2 separate regions of the Homo sapiens genome follow, and region 2 is linked to region 1. The links are contacts of gene promoters, found by promoter capture Hi-C in blood cells and fetal thymus (Javierre and others, 2016). All regions are on one chromosome and are shown on one strand. Each heading gives the region's core, a stretch centred on a gene start or on the middle of the fragment in contact. The rest is flanking DNA. Distances are from core to core; before and after follow the strand shown.

Region 1 (7,374 bases), core at 2,966-5,465:
CACCTGGAATCCCAGCATTTTGGGAGGCTGAGGTGGGCGGATCACTTGAGGTCAGGAGTTTGAGACCAGCCTGGTCAACATGGCGAAACCCTGTCTCTACTAAAAGTACAAAAATTAGCTAGGCGTGGTGGCGGGTGCCTGTAGTCCCAGCTACTTGGGAGGCATGAGAATTGCTTGAACCCGGGAGGCAGAGGTTGCAGTGAGCTGAGATCGTGCCACTGCACTCCAGCCCAGGGGAAAGAGCAAGACTCTGTCTCAAAATAAATAAAATAAAAATCAAAATTAAATAATAAAGTAAAATAAACCCCCCTCTCCAGAAAGCATCACCTCTTTGGTGAATATTCTTCTCACCATTCCAGATACAAACACATGCACAAGCCTCGGAAGAAGCCTCGACTTTGGAGTGCATGGACCTGGGCTCAACTTCCAGCTCTGCCACTTTAATTTTCAATTTTATTTATTTATCTTTCTTTCCTTTTTTTTTTTTTTTTGAGACAGAGTCTCACTGTGTCACCCAGGCTGGAGTGCAGTGGCACGATCTCAGCTCACTGCAAGCTCCGCCTCCCAGGTTCATGCCATTTTCCTGCCTCAGCCTCCTGAGTAGCTGGGACTACGGGCACCCACCACCATGCCCGGCTAATTTTTTGTATTTTTAGTAGAAACGGGGTTTCACTGTGTTAGCCAGGATGGTCTCGATCTCCTGACCTTGTGATCCACCCGCCTTGGCCTCCCAAAGTGCTGGGATTACAGGCGTGAGCCACTGCGCCCGGCCTTTTTTTTCTTTTGTGAAATGGAGTCTCGCTCTGTTGCCCAGGCTGGAGTGCAGTGGCACAATCTCGGCTCACTGCAACCTCTGCCTCCTGGGTTCAAGCAATTCTCCTGCCTCAGCCTCCCGAGTAGCTGGGATTACAGGCGTGTGCCACCACGCCTGGCTAATTTTTGTATTTTTAGTAGAGACAGGGTTTCACCATGTTGGCCAGGCTGGTCTCGAACTTCTGACCTCAGGTGATCTGCCCACCTTGGTCTCCCAAAGTGCTGGGCTTAGTCCCGGGCTAAAAATACAGCTGATCCTCAAAATGTGAGGGGGTTGAAGAAGACAAGTCAGAAGGCAGTGGGGGAGGTGGGGCCCTGGTGTGACAGTGAAAGGGAGGCTAAGAAAGGGAAGGGGCGTGTTGTCCTAGGTACTTGCCAGGCTGAGGTGGGAGGATCATTTGAGGCCAGCCTGGGCAACATAGTGAGACTCCATCTCTACAAAAAATAAAATAAAAAAATAGCCAGGTGTGGTGGCATGCACCTGTAGTCCCAGCTAGTTGGGAGGCTGAGGTGAGAGGATCGCTTGAGCCCAGGAGTTTGAGGTTACAGTGAGCTATAATTGTACCACTGCATTCCAGCCTGGATGACAGAATGAGACCCTGTCTCACACACACACACACACACACACACACACACACACACACAGGCTGGGCAAGCTCACTCCTGTAATCCCAACCCTTTGGGAGGTCAAGGTGAGCAGATCACTTGAGCCCAGGACTATTTATTTATTTATTTAAGCCCAGGGGTTTGAGATCAGCCTGGGCAACATAGCAAGACCCCATCTCTACAAAAAATTAAAAAGTAGCCACGTGTAGTGGCACATGCCTTAGCCATAGCTACTCAGGAGGCTGAGGTGGGAGGATCACTTGAGCCTGGGAAGTCAAGGCTGCAGTGAGCTATGATTGTGCCACTGCACTCCAGCCTGGGCGACAGAGTAAGACCCTGTCTTCCAAAAAATAATTTAAAAACAGAAGAGTAAGGGGCACCTGGAGGGAGAGTTGGGGGCTCAGAGTTGGCAAGGCACTGATGCCAGGGAAATACATTGGTGAAAGAGAGAGACTGGAGTAAGCGCCAGAGAGAGAAGGGAGGAGGACTTGGGCTCCCAGAAACTACTGGGGAAGGGACACCTGTAGAGAGGATGGCAGGGAGCCCAACTTTGTGGCCCCTATGTCCAACTTTAGGGTGAGATGATGCCTGGGGAGCCCCCAGGTCTGGGCCCCCTCCCTTGGTGGTGTCAGCCTGAGCCCATCTGTTTCTGGTCCCTCCCACCACTGCGACACTCCTTACCTCTTTCAGGTTGAACCTCATGTGGTGACAGAGGATGTGGAAGGGGAGCTGGGTGCCTCCACCCTGTGGGCGGTAGCCTTTTACCCTAGAGGCCTGGAAGAGCTTTGGGTAGCCAAACTGGTAGCGGGCAGGGAGGGCGAAGCGCAGCCCGTGCTGGTCCCCATAGCGGTGAAGCAGGCTCAGCACAGAGCTGCTCCCGGATTTATGTGTCTTCAGGAACACCAGTCGCTGCCGGGGTGGGCAGGACGGAAGGGCTGGTCGTAGGGATGGGGCCGAGGGCTGTCGGAGCTGTAGCCCAGGTAGCCTGGGAAGAGATGGAGGGGGAGTGTCCTGTTCCTCAGCAGCAAATGGGTAGAAGGGACAGAGGGCATGGAGGCTTCTGAGTCCTCAGGAGTCACCAGCCCCAGGTGGGATGGGGAAGAGCAAGTACGGGGCGTCTAGAAGGAGTTGGGGCAAAGTGGGAACTCACCTCCTCTGGAAGGGCCCTCCCAAGAGCTGGAGTGCAAAGCCAATGGTCATGAAGACTCCCAGAGCCACCCCCAGGCTCCGAGGTCCCCAGAGCCGCAGCGTCCTGGCAGGAGAGAGAGGGCCCATGTGGCACAGGGAAGGGTGAGGTGACAGAGAGATGGAGCCAGGGCCAGGAAGAGGGGCAGAGACAGCTGGAGACAGCCGTGCAGCTGCGGAAGGCACTGGTTGGAGATCGGGGGGTCATTCCCCAGGCCTGCTCACAGTCTTGGTTGAGTCTGCCCCCTGAGTTAGCAGATTTTTGCCTCTGTCAGCGTCTAGAAGGGAAATGAGGGGGGAAGAAGGGAAGTCTAAGGAGAGAGGCAGAGGCAGCCTTCTCTCCTGCTGCAGCTGAGACCTCCTTCAGGGAAGGGGAGTGGCTGGGGATGTTGTCTATACCCAGACTCTCCTAGGTGGCCCCACAACTACTGTCTCTGCTCTATCACTTTCTTATCTCCAGTTCCTCCCGCTCCCCACCTACAGTTGTCCCTGAGCCTTGGGGATTTATAAGGGAAGGAGAGAAAAAGCCCCAGCTCGTGAATGAAACAGCCAGCAAGAGAGAGAGAGATCAGATCAATCAGCTCATTAACACAGTCAGGTCAGACCATGGTCGGGAACCTGGTTTCCTCCAGAGCCCCTCTGGCTGTCACAGATGGGGATAAAGAGCCCTATCCCAGGACCAGGAAGGGAAGCCATACAGTGGGAATGAGGATCAGACAGGACACAGGTGTATGAACCCAGGCAGGAGGAAGGGAGGTTGGACTTCCAGGAGTGGCATTGCAATGGGTAAGAGCCATTGGGTTATAAATTCCCGCGCCTCTTTTTTCTCTGTCTCAGCACGGGGCAGACCCCCATGTATGACAGGGGCTGGGGGAGACGTGTGGCTACTTATAAAGCCCAGATCCCTGGACTTACCCACCATTCCACTTTCCAACCTTATCAGTGCACCCGGAGGAGACTGAAAGGGTGGGGCTGGAGAGGGAGACAGAAAGAGAGAGAGACACACACACACACACACACACACACAGAGAAACAGAGAGAGAGAGACAGAGGGACAGAGAGACTATGACACAAAGATAAGGAGAAAGGCGCAAACACTAACTGCAGAGTTCCTTCTGAAGCCCGAGCTTCCTAATCAACCGGGAGTCCAGCCCCGCCCCTTCAGATTACAACTCGCGATCAGGGACCACGGCCCCTCCAACAAGCCCCGACAGCTCCCTGCTCCGATGAGCCAGGGGTAACCCCAAGCAGAGAGAAGCCACACTTTTACTCCCGGAGACCTGCCCTCTCTGGCATCACTCCCCAATTCCCTCCCTGATCACAGCCCCTGGGGTCTAGCCGCGTCTCCCCTATCCAGAGTTCTTCATTTCCTTCCATCCATCTCTCCCTTCCCATGATTGGAGATCCCAGCCCTCTGTCCCCTCCAGCTTTGGTGACTGCCCAGTTGCCCCCGCTGGGGTTCCATGAACCCCTCATGTCTCCTCCCATAAATTAGAGGGTCCCTCCACTGGTCCTATCCTTGGTTTCACTTCCCACTCACCAGGCCACAAGGGGAGCAGCAAGGGAAATCGGGCCGGGCCCTCCCGCCCATCCCAGCCACCGCCCGACTCTTGGCTCAGCTCAACTTTCCCCAAGAACTTTCTCAGCGCCCAGGCTCCTCCCTCCTCCCTTTGTGCCGCCAGCCCCAGCAGCTGCTGCAGCTTTGATCGCGGTTCTAGGTCTCTCCCTCGCTGCATCTTCCCCTCTTCGGCAGGGCACCCAGACTCCTCTTGGAAGACACCACTTCCGCCCCCGCTTTCACACTTGGGAATCAATCCTACCATTTTCTCTTGGCTTGCCGCAGAACAAAAGATTCATTCAGGCGGTGGAAAGAAAGAAGGAAGGAAGGAGAAAGTGATATTTGAAAGCAGACATTGTCAAGGACGTGGCAAGGTAGCCAGAGACTGACACTCAGAGAACAAGGCCTCCCATCCTGAAGGCAGGGGGCAGTGGTGTGGTCACCTTAATAATGCTTCGTGGCCGGGTGCGGTGGCTCACGCCTGTAATCCCAGCACTTTGGGAGGCTAAGGCTGGTGGATCGCTTGAGGTCAGGAGTTTGCGATCAGCCTGGCCAACATGGTGAAACCCCGTCTCTACTAAAAATACAAAAATTAGCTGACTGTGGTGGCAGGCGCCTGTAATCCCAGCTACTCAGGAGGCTGAGGCAGGAGAATCATTTGAACTGGGGAGGCGGAGGTTGCAGTGAACTGAGATCGCGCCATTGCACTCCAGCCTCGCGACAACAGCGAGACTCTATCTCAAAAAAAAAAAAAAAAAAGCCTCATGTTCAAAGAGCATTTTGCAGGTGACAAGGTGCTTTTTCACACAGATTCTATTTGGTCCCCACAATTCTCCCTGTTGTACAAACGAAGATGCTCAGAGGCCCAGAGGGTGGGCAATTTGGAGATCAGAGGTTATTGTCTAGGCCCGCCTCCTGGGGGACAGGTGCCAAGGGAAGTGAAAAGCCGGCAGAAAATGAGCCAGTCACAGAGGCTCTGAGACCTCTGCTAGGAGCCAGGGCTCAGGCACTGATGGTGACAGCACAGAAGCCACACATGGGGTCCAATACATTACCATTTATTTGCAGAATAAACATGGACTCAAACACTGAAACATGGAGTTTGTGAAGGATGTGGGTGGCAGAGGTCACGAGATGAGCACCCCCCCACCTTGTTTTTTTTAAAATTTGGTTTAAGAAATTGATACTGAAAAAACTCAACAGAACCCAGGCCCATGAAGTCTCACATCCTACTCAAGCACCCTCAGTCCCCTGCCCTGCATCCAGCTGGTCCATTTCTGAGACCAGATGCCCCCACCCCTCCCCACTTCCAACTTCCTTCAAACCCCTTCCCCAGCTGCAACTCTAAACTCCTCATTTTCTCTGTTGGGGCTGATCACCAGCCCCAGCCTTAGAGGGCTAGAGACTATACCTTCTAAGGAAACCACACTCCCTCCTAAATAAATACCCCCAGGCCCCCCTCCCATTACCAAATGAAAAAATAAATATTGTGAACACCCACCCACCTCTGATGAAAATCTCCTGGATTTGGGGCCCCAGCCATTCACCTGCAAAGTCCCTTCTCTACCCTCTCTGCAGCCCCCTTCGACTCCTCCCCAGGCCCAGCTGAGGGGGGAGGAGGGGAAAGGGCCATGAACCCTTCTGATGCTAGGGCACCCCTCCCCCGTTATCGAGGTCCAAGCAGGGCCAGGGCTGAGAGGGAGAGAATGAGGATGGTTTGGGTGTGAAAACCAATAGATGCCCCCCCACTCCTGCTCCGGCCCTGGTTGTAGCGGGCACTGCCACCTCCTCCTTTGCCCCCAGAACCATCCCTTCTAGGAGGGTATGGAGGCCGAGGAGGCCGGGCTGGGGGAGCCACAGCCCCAGCCATCCAGTCATCTGCATACTGCTGTCCCCCTCCAGAGCCGCTGGCATCCTCATCTGCAAGGAAGAAGAGGGACAGAGCAGGATGGGAGGGAGAAGCAGAGGGAGACAGAGGGAGGAAAAGAAATTGAGATAAAAACAGAAAGAGAGAGGAAAGGGAGGGAGACACAGGTGGATGCCGGGTTGGGGAAGGGAGAAAGACCATGAGTGACAGGAAGGCAGGGAGAGAAGGAAGGAGAGAGATCCGACAGCAGACATGGGGGGAGAGATCATGATGGGAGACAGTGAGACAGAGAGAAAAAAAAACAAAACAGGCAGATGGGGAGAGAGGATAACAGGAAAAAACAGAAAAATCAGAAGTACACAGAAGCAGAAAGCAGCCAGGAAGAGGGGTGCGGGAAGAGTGACAAAGAGAGACAGAGACAGACAGATAGAAGGAGAGAAGAAAACAATGAGTGTCTGTGCCTTGCTTCTCTGTTTGGCAAACTCCACCCTGCGGAGCCAGCTCAATGTCACCCACCACCCTGGCTTCCCAGCCTCCCCCAAATTGCCCCCTCCCCCATTTTCCCACTGCCCTTTGCCCATTATAAGGGGCTTCCCACTGTTCTTTAAGAATGTTTTCGTGTCTCCCCTACTGGCCTGAAAGGATACAGACCCCCTCATTGATCTGTTACCCCCAGTCTTTCAGGGCAACGCTCAATAAATGCTCGTTGAATGAATTAGTGAATTAATCAATGAACGCTAAGAGCAGAGGCACGGGCGGGAACTACCAGGAGAGGGGAGAGGCTTCAGGGCAGTGGGCGGGGCTCAGGCTCAGGGATGCAGGGGTCTCACCCGCGTCCTGCCCGTCCAGGTCGTGTCCCAGTGCGGCCGTTTTCATTCTGGCCGTGGCCGCCCGGAGCTGTAGCCGACGCCGCCGTGTCGGGACATCGGGGCCCGAGGCGTCCACCTTGAGCTCGGGGTTGTTGACCTGCTCGGCCGGGGAGCCCCCGACCACTGGCGGCAAGTACCTGCGAGCAGAGCAGCCCCGAAGCGCCAGCTAGCGCGCGCGGCCCCGCCCCTCCCGGCCGCGGTCCCGCCCCCTGCTGCCCCCCGACGCCCCCGAGGCTCACCGGCCCCGCCCGGCTCCGGTCCAGCAGGGCGCCGCCTCCAGCGAGGCGTCCGCTGCCATGCGAGAGTCTCCGCACACCGTCAGGGACAGCCGGGCCCAGAAGCCCCGCATCCGGGCCAGACGCTCGCGGAGCTCCCACACCTGGGCGGGCGAGAGGGGGCGGGGCGAGCTGGAGCGCGACCCCCACAACCATCCCCGGCCCCGGGCCCCCCCGCCCCCAACTCTTGGTCATCCCACG
Region 2 (7,374 bases), core at 3,475-5,974, 190 kb after region 1:
GGCTGCTCTCCACGTCCCTTATGCCACTATCAACACCAGCTGCTGCCCAGCTACTTTGGACACAGCTCACCCCCGACAGGGGGCCGTCCTGGTGGGCATCACTCCCCACCCACACCGCACACTGGCCCCAGGGCCCTGCTGCCTGGGCCTCCACATCCATCCCTGCACATGGCAGCTTTGTCTCTGTTGAGAATGGACTCTACGCTTAGGCTGGGCAGAGGCCTCCCTGCACTGGTCCTGGCCTCACTCTTTTCCCTGACCCTTGGGGCCCAGGGCCATGGAGGGACCCTTAGGAGTTCAATGAGAGAGACCATGAGGCCACTGGGCTTTCCCCTTCCCAGGCCTCCTGGGTGCCACCCCCTTACGTTATTCTTGGGCCTCTAATAAGTGTCCCACAGGTGCCTGGCCAGGCCCACCTGCTGCAGATGTGGTCTGTGTGTGTGCATGTGTGGGTGTGTGTGGGCACAGGTGTGAGTGTGTGAGCAACAGTACCCCATTCCAGTCGTTTCCTGCTGTGACTAAGTCAGCAACACAGTTCCTCTGACATGGGCCTTGGCTGTGCTTCTTTGGGGGTGAAGAGATTGGGGAGGAAGTCTCCACCCCTGGGAGGCAGAAGCCAGGTGAGAACCAGAGTGGGTTGGGGCCTCCTTGCAGGGCTGGGTTTGGCCCAGGGAGAGGGCAGTGTCCCAGTCTTAGAGATCTGTCCTGGCTTCTTGGGGTGGCGGGGGGTTGGGGGAGCTTCCTGAGGGACACCTGTGGCTTCCTAGACAGAATTGGGGGATCCCAGCGGGATGGTCCCTGCTGCAATCCCACCATGTCCTAGGACAGCAGCAAGGGTTCCTGGGGCTTCAGCCTGAGAAAAGTCCCTGTGATTTGACCTGGCGTCCCTCTGCCGGGCTCCCTGCTGTGGCCTGGGCTAGAGTCCTGATGCCCTCCTTCCACAGCTGGCATCAGGCAGGGCTGGAAAGTAGGAGGACTTGCCTGAAATCTGGCTGGATTTCAGAGCCTTGCTCTGTCACCCAGGCTGGAGTGCATTGGCACGATCTTGGCTTACTTCAACCTCCACCTCCCGGGTTCTAGTGATTCTCCTGCGTCAGCCTCCCGAGTAGCTGGGACTACGGATGTGCACCATCGTGTCCGCTAATTTTTGTATTTTTTTTTTTTTTTTCAGTAGAGACGGGTTTCACCATGTTTGGCTGGGCTGGTCTCGAACTCCTGACCTCAGGTGATCCACCCACCTTGGCCTCCCAAAGTGCTGAGATTACAGACTTGAGCCACGGTGCCCCGCCTGAATAGGAGCTTCTTAATCAAAATTTCAGCATGGCTCTGGGTCAAAATTGACCAGCTGATTTAATAAGTTGATGTAAAAATTTTACAGTCAGCTACCCCTGGGAGGGGGAGTCTCTCCCTAGTCAGTGAGGCACCAGATGCCAGAGCATTGGCAATGTACAAGGGGCTCAGCCCTGTGGCTCATATGTGTAATCCCAGCACACTGAGAGGATGCCTTGAGCCTGGGAGATTGAGGCCAGCCTGGGTAACAGTGACACCACGTCTCTGCAAAAAAGAAAATTAGGGGAGAACTGTGGTGCGTGCCTATAGTCCCACCTACAGGCAGAGCGAGACCATGTCCCCCACTAAAAAGAGGCCAAGAATGCAGGAAATATAGATAATATGGGCCCTGTGATGGGTGGAGGCCAAATAGATCAATACAGAATTGAAGAAGACACAGAGCACTTGTATTTCCCTTCAGGCATAGCGCGCTGGCTAGGACTCCAGTACCGTGAAGGGAGGCAGTGAGAGCAGACATCTGTGCCTCATTCCTGATCTCAAGGGGAAAGCAAGAACAAGGTGGGTGCCAAGGAGGGGCAAGGGGCTGGGGCAGGCATAGACGTGGCTGGTGAGGAAAGGAGGATAGTTGTTGGGGGAAGGTGGGGACATACAAGCAGCAGTTCTCAAAATGGGCAGGGTCCTGGCCCCCTCCCTGCCTCTGCTGAACACTGCATCCCATGCCTCTCCCATGGCCACCTGCTGGGCTAACGGGCTGGATTTAGACTCTGCCCATGTTGGAATCATGCCCTCCTCCAGGGCCGGTGCCTCCCAAAACCCCCCTCTGAGAGAGAGCCACAGCCCCAGGCTTAGCCCCAGGCCCTGTCACTGCTGTTGGGGGAGGGAGGATGAACCATCCGGGAGGCCTCACACCATTCCAGAGCAGAAATCCTGACACAAAAGGAATCTCCCATGGGGGTTCAGCTGGGTCCAGAGCCCGGAAAGTGACATAAACACGCACCTTGCATCTAAGGAGAATGCACGTGGCGGTACCGGGCCTGAGGCCCCTGGGGAGTATGTACCCTCCAGAGCTACCCAGAGGCTGTTGGCTAAAAGTTCTATGTGGCCCCCTCCTTGGGCAGCCTGGTAAGCAGGTGACCTTCTAGCTGGGTCCCATGGGCCACGGGCAAGGCAGGAATGGAACGAAGAGTCAGTCCTCAGTGGCTGGGTGTTGTATCCCATGCCTATAATCCCAGCACTTTGGGAGGCTGAGGTGGGCAGATCACTTGAGGCCAGGAGTTTGAGACCAGCCTGGCCAACATGGTGAAACCCTGTCTCTACTAAAAATATAAAAATTAGCTGGGTGTGGTGGCACACACCTGTAATTCCCAGCTACTTGGAAGGCTGAGGCAGGAGAATTACTTGAACCCAGGAAGCAGAGGTTACCGTGAGCCAAGATCACACCATTGCACTCCAGCCTGGGCAACACAGCGAGAATCCATCTCAAAAAAAAAAAACAAAAAGTCCTCAGGCAGGGTGGGCCACCCTCTTGAGGCCTTGCCCAAACAGCCAGGGGGTCCCTTGTCCTCTTTTCGGCCCACCTTTGCAGGTGGGACCAGTTCAGTCCAAAGCCCCGGTGCCTCAGTTTCCCTGTGGGTTGAACAAGGAGAATGAGGTGTATAGGGCCTGGCTCAGACGGAGGGGTTTCCTGAGCATGGGGAGCCTGTTTCCTCAGACCTGTGAAGGGAAGGAGGGTGGATCGGCCTGACTGGCCCTGGGAAGCACAGAGGAGCCTACTGGGACCAGGGAAGAGACTGACAAGAGAAGGGAGGCCTGTCCCTGCCTGCTTCTGTCTCAAGAAGATTGTTATCACTTCCTCTGGTGAAATCCTGCCTTCCTGTCCCCACGGCCCCTCAGCTGATGCCACCTTACTCTGGAGAGGATGGGCAGAGCCTCCTATGGAGGGAGCCCTGTGGGTCACCAAAGCTCCAGTGACCACCCCCGGGCAAAGACCTGCAGATCCCCTGTTAGAGACGGGCCCAGGACTTTGTGCGGGGTGCCCACTGTTGCTCTGAGCCTTCACTTCCTCAGGGAGGCTTCCTCAGGATCTCGAACCTGCGGAAGGAGGACCAGTCTGTGTACTTCTGCCAAGTCCAGCTGGACATACAGATCAGGGAGGCTGTCGTGGCAGTCCATCAAGGGGACCCACCTCACCATCACCCAGGGTGAGTCCAGCTGCCCTGGCACCAAGGAACCTTCCTGGTTCAGCCATAGGCTCAGGTGTGTGGAGGGAATGACCTGAGGGGCTGTATGAGGGAACAACCTCCTGGGGCTCCCCTATGCCTGAGTTCCTGCAACTCAGAAGTTGAGGCCCAGAGATCCAGGTAGAGGGGGCTCCAGTCCTGGGACTGCCCTGCAAGTCATGTGGCCTGGGACAGGGCTTCTCCAAGCTCTGTCCCCTCCTGTGTAGGGCAGGGAGGTCAGAGGGGACCCTGCAGATCCAGTCTCATGTCTGGGGGTCAAGGGGTGGCCTCGAGAGGGACCAGTCTCTGTGTAGGGGACCGTCAGCCCCCTCACCCCTTGAGCAAGACTGTGGTCCCTGCACCAAGGGAGCAGGCCTGGGGTGGGAAGAGGCCAGCTGGGCTGTGGTGGTGCCTGGGGACTGCATGGGAGCCCCTGCCAGGGAGGGAGAGGGACAGAGGACAAGCTGGGGGCTCTGGTGCTTGGGCTGGGGGCTGAGCGCCTGTGACCTCCACTGGCTTCCTCCTTCTCCTCTCTGAGGACTGAATCTGGGGTGCAGCAGAGCACAGACTCAGGCCCGCCTTTCCTCTCCCTGAAAGAGCCTGCGCTGGCCTTGGACAGAGAAAGGGATGAGAAGTGAGGCTGAGTGCGGTGGGGTCTGCAGGGATCCAGGTGGGAGGGGCCCAGCCAGCCAAGGTGAGGCCCAGCCCCTCAGCAGGAAGATGGGCACTGGGGCCCTTGGGCAGGGCTGACTTGACACTTTTGTGTGACTTGAGCCACTGTGCCCAGCCTGAACACCCTTTCCTGGTAAAACACTCCACAAACCAGGAAGAGAAGGAATGTACTGCAACAAAATAAAGGCCAGTCATGCAAGGCCCATGGCTGAAAGTCTTTCAGTCATTTTAGATGAAAGACTGAAATCTTTGCCTCCAAGATCAGGAACAAGAGAAGGATGCCCGCTCTCACTACTTCTATTCAACACAGGATTTGAAGTCAGGCCGGGCACAGTGGCTCACGCCTGTAATCCCAGCACTTTTGGAGGCTGAGGCGGGCAGATTACTTGAGCCTATGAGTGTGAGACCACCCTGGCCAACATGGCAAAACCCCATCTCTACTAAAAAAAAAAAAAAAAAAAGGATTTGAAGTCCTGGCCGGAGCAATTAGGCAAGGGATAAAAAGGCACCTAAGGCCCTTTTGCAATAAGAAGCCAGATGGATAAAGGAAGTGCTGGTCACCCTGGAGGTGTACTGGTTTGGGGAAGGTCCCCGGCCCCCACAGCCCTCTGGGGAGCCTCACCCTGGCTCTCCCCACTCACCTCAGCCCTCAGGCAGCCCCTCCACAGGGCCCCTCTCCTGCCTGGACAGCTCTGCTGGTCTCCCCGTCCCCTGGAGAAGAACAAGGCCATGGGTCGGCCCCTGCTGCTGCCCCTGCTGCTCCTGCTGCAGCCGCCAGCATTTCTGCAGCCTGGTGAGTACCCAGGACCGCCCAGGTATGGTCTCTGCCCAAACCACAGGAGGGGCCAACCCAAGACAAAGGCAGAACATCTGGGGCAGGGGCCAGGCTCCCACCTCCAGCAAACAAGGGCGGGTCCCATAGGGGTGGGTGCCGCCATCTCTTCCCCCTCCACCCTCCCCCATGCCTGAAGAGTGGGAGACCCAGGCCAGAGGTCAGTCCAGCCACCTGTCACACGACTGCCTGTGGGTGAAGGTGTGGGAGGGTCTGGGGTCACCCTCTTTGTGTCCTGAGGTGGTTTCAAGGTCTCTCCCCCACTCACTCCCTCCTTCCTCTAGGTGGCTCCACAGGATCTGGTCCAAGCTACCTTTATGGGGTCACTCAACCAAAACACCTCTCAGCCTCCATGGGTGGCTCTGTGGAAATCCCCTTCTCCTTCTATTACCCCTGGGAGTTAGCCATAGTTCCCAACGTGAGAATATCCTGGAGACGGGGCCACTTCCACGGGCAGTCCTTCTACAGCACAAGGCCGCCTTCCATTCACAAGGATTATGTGAACCGGCTCTTTCTGAACTGGACAGAGGGTCAGGAGAGCGGCTTCCTCAGGATCTCAAACCTGCGGAAGGAGGACCAGTCTGTGTATTTCTGCCGAGTCGAGCTGGACACCCGGAGATCAGGGAGGCAGCAGTTGCAGTCCATCAAGGGGACCAAACTCACCATCACCCAGGGTGAGTCCAGCTGCCCTGACACCTGCCTTGCCCACCGCAGTGAGGGTTTTGGTGACCACTGATGTCTTCACATTTAAACCCAGTGGTCTGGATTGAGAGCTGTTAGCATTTCACCTTGCTACCCCTTCCATGTCTGGGCTTCTGAGAGCAGCTTGCTCATCCTGAATGTCCCCAATCTAGAAAGCAGCACACCATGCCTTTCATCCAGACGCCCCACACCCCCAGAAGAGGGTCTGCTCATTCCTCATCTCTTCCAGCTGTCACAACCACCACCACCTGGAGGCCCAGCAGCACAACCACCATAGCCGGCCTCAGGGTCACAGAAAGCAAAGGGCACTCAGAATCATGGCACCTAAGTCTGGACACTGCCATCAGGGTTGCATTGGCTGTCGCTGTGCTCAAAACTGTCATTTTGGGACTGCTGTGCCTCCTCCTCCTGTGGTGGAGGAGAAGGAAAGGTAAGTGCCCAGAACGCACTGTCTCCTCAAGCTTCCCAGCTGGGGGTTTCTCTGAGCCCACCTGCAGCTAAGGGACTTCAGAAATATGCAGACCCTGCTGGCTCCCCTCAAGCCCACCAAGGCCGACTCTGGCCTGTGCTGGGGCGTCTGCATCTCGGGGGCCTCCTGCAGTGGGGTGGTGCAGGGTCACATGTGAGAACCCCCAGCCTGGGCGCGGTGGCTCATGCCTGTAATCCCAGCACTTTGGGAGCCCAAGGCAGGTGGATCACAAGGCCAAGAGATCAAGACCATCCTGGCCAACATGGTGACACCCCATGTCTACTAAAAATACAAAAATTAGCTGGGCATGGTGGCACACGCTTATAGTCCCAGCTACTCAGGAGGCTGAGGCAGGAGAATCGCTTGAACCCGGGAGGCAGAGGTTGCAGTGAGTCAAGGTCGTGCCACTGCACTCCAGCCTGGTGACAGAACAAGACTCTGTCTCAAACAAACAAACAAACAAACAAAAAAAGCCCCCAGCCCTCTCCACACAGCTGGATCCCCCCAACTTCTCTCTCAGTCATCAATCATCCACGCTCCCCTGAAGGTTCCTGGGGAGGGGAGGGCCTGCCCTGGGAAAAGAACAGAGAGAGGAGAAGGGACCAGAATTGGGCTGAGCTCAGCAGGCACTGGCTGACTGCCCTCCTGCCACGGCCTGGCTTGAAACTGGAGAAGCAAAGTATATAAAGCATAGGCTCTGCTCTCAGGGAACTGGGGGTGTGGAGTTGTCAGTTGCCTCAAGGACTAATTGCTTCATTGAGAAAGAACTATGGTATTGCTAAACAAGGGTGGGAGGAGAGAGAGGTAATCAGGGAGGACTTCCCACAGGAGGTGGCATCTGCAGATGTCTCAAAAAAGAAAAGAATTAGCCTGGCAAGAGGTGAGGATTGTGTAGAGGTCACTCACTTTCCTTGTGGGTGGAGGAAACCATTCCAGGAGCTGTAGGAAGCTTGGTGCTGGTGAAGGAGGCAGGAGAGGAGAGAAGAGGAGATGACCTTAGAAATCACATCCAAGAGCCTCTGATCCCAGAGGCAGCGTGAGGCAGCAAAGGGTGACCTCAGTTCCCCATGAGAGACCTCAGTCTATGGAGGAATGGCCAGAGGTGGGCCAGGCTGGGTCAGTGCAGTGCAGGAGTGAGGTGGAGAGAGGGAAAGGGCCAGATCCTAGAAAAGATTAAGTAATAAAAACCA

What was found. Contacts are between HindIII fragments. The CHiCAGO score rates a contact against its expected background, and 5 or more counts as called.
Region 2: the fragment with the promoter of PILRB here is called in contact with the fragment with the promoter of GAL3ST4 in region 1 in 3 of 17 cell types (total B cells, total CD8 T cells and naive B cells); the score reaches 6.9 in total B cells.

What each region holds. Positions count from the first base shown.
Region 1 is chr7:100,164,402-100,171,775 of GRCh38, forward strand. It overlaps GAL3ST4 (galactose-3-O-sulfotransferase 4), which reads right to left and starts at 4,216. Exons shown (of 4, transcript NM_024637.5): 1 at 4,145-4,216; 2 at 2,570-2,882; 3 at 2,101-2,404. The coding sequence starts at 2,694. GPC2 (glypican 2) reads right to left here. Exons shown (of 10, transcript NM_152742.3): 8 at 7,138-7,277; 9 at 6,860-7,035; 10 at 5,205-6,082. The coding sequence ends at 5,829. RefSeq lists a silencer at 7,062-7,281. The HindIII fragment of the contact is 24,826 bases long and covers 1-7,374 here.
Region 2 is chr7:100,353,393-100,360,766 of GRCh38, forward strand. It overlaps PILRB (paired immunoglobin like type 2 receptor beta), which reads left to right and starts at 4,725. Exons shown (of 4, transcript NM_178238.4): 1 at 4,725-4,974; 2 at 5,298-5,687; 3 at 5,945-6,145. The coding sequence starts at 4,911. STAG3L5P-PVRIG2P-PILRB (STAG3L5P-PVRIG2P-PILRB readthrough) reads left to right here. Exons shown (of 17, transcript NR_036570.1): 11 at 1-91; 12 at 1,751-1,848; 13 at 3,358-3,491; 14 at 4,828-4,974; 15 at 5,507-5,687; 16 at 5,945-6,145. MIR6840 (microRNA 6840) reads left to right here and starts at 3,259; the gene lies at 3,259-3,329. It also overlaps the pseudogene PVRIG2P. The HindIII fragment of the contact is 11,655 bases long and covers 1-6,174 here.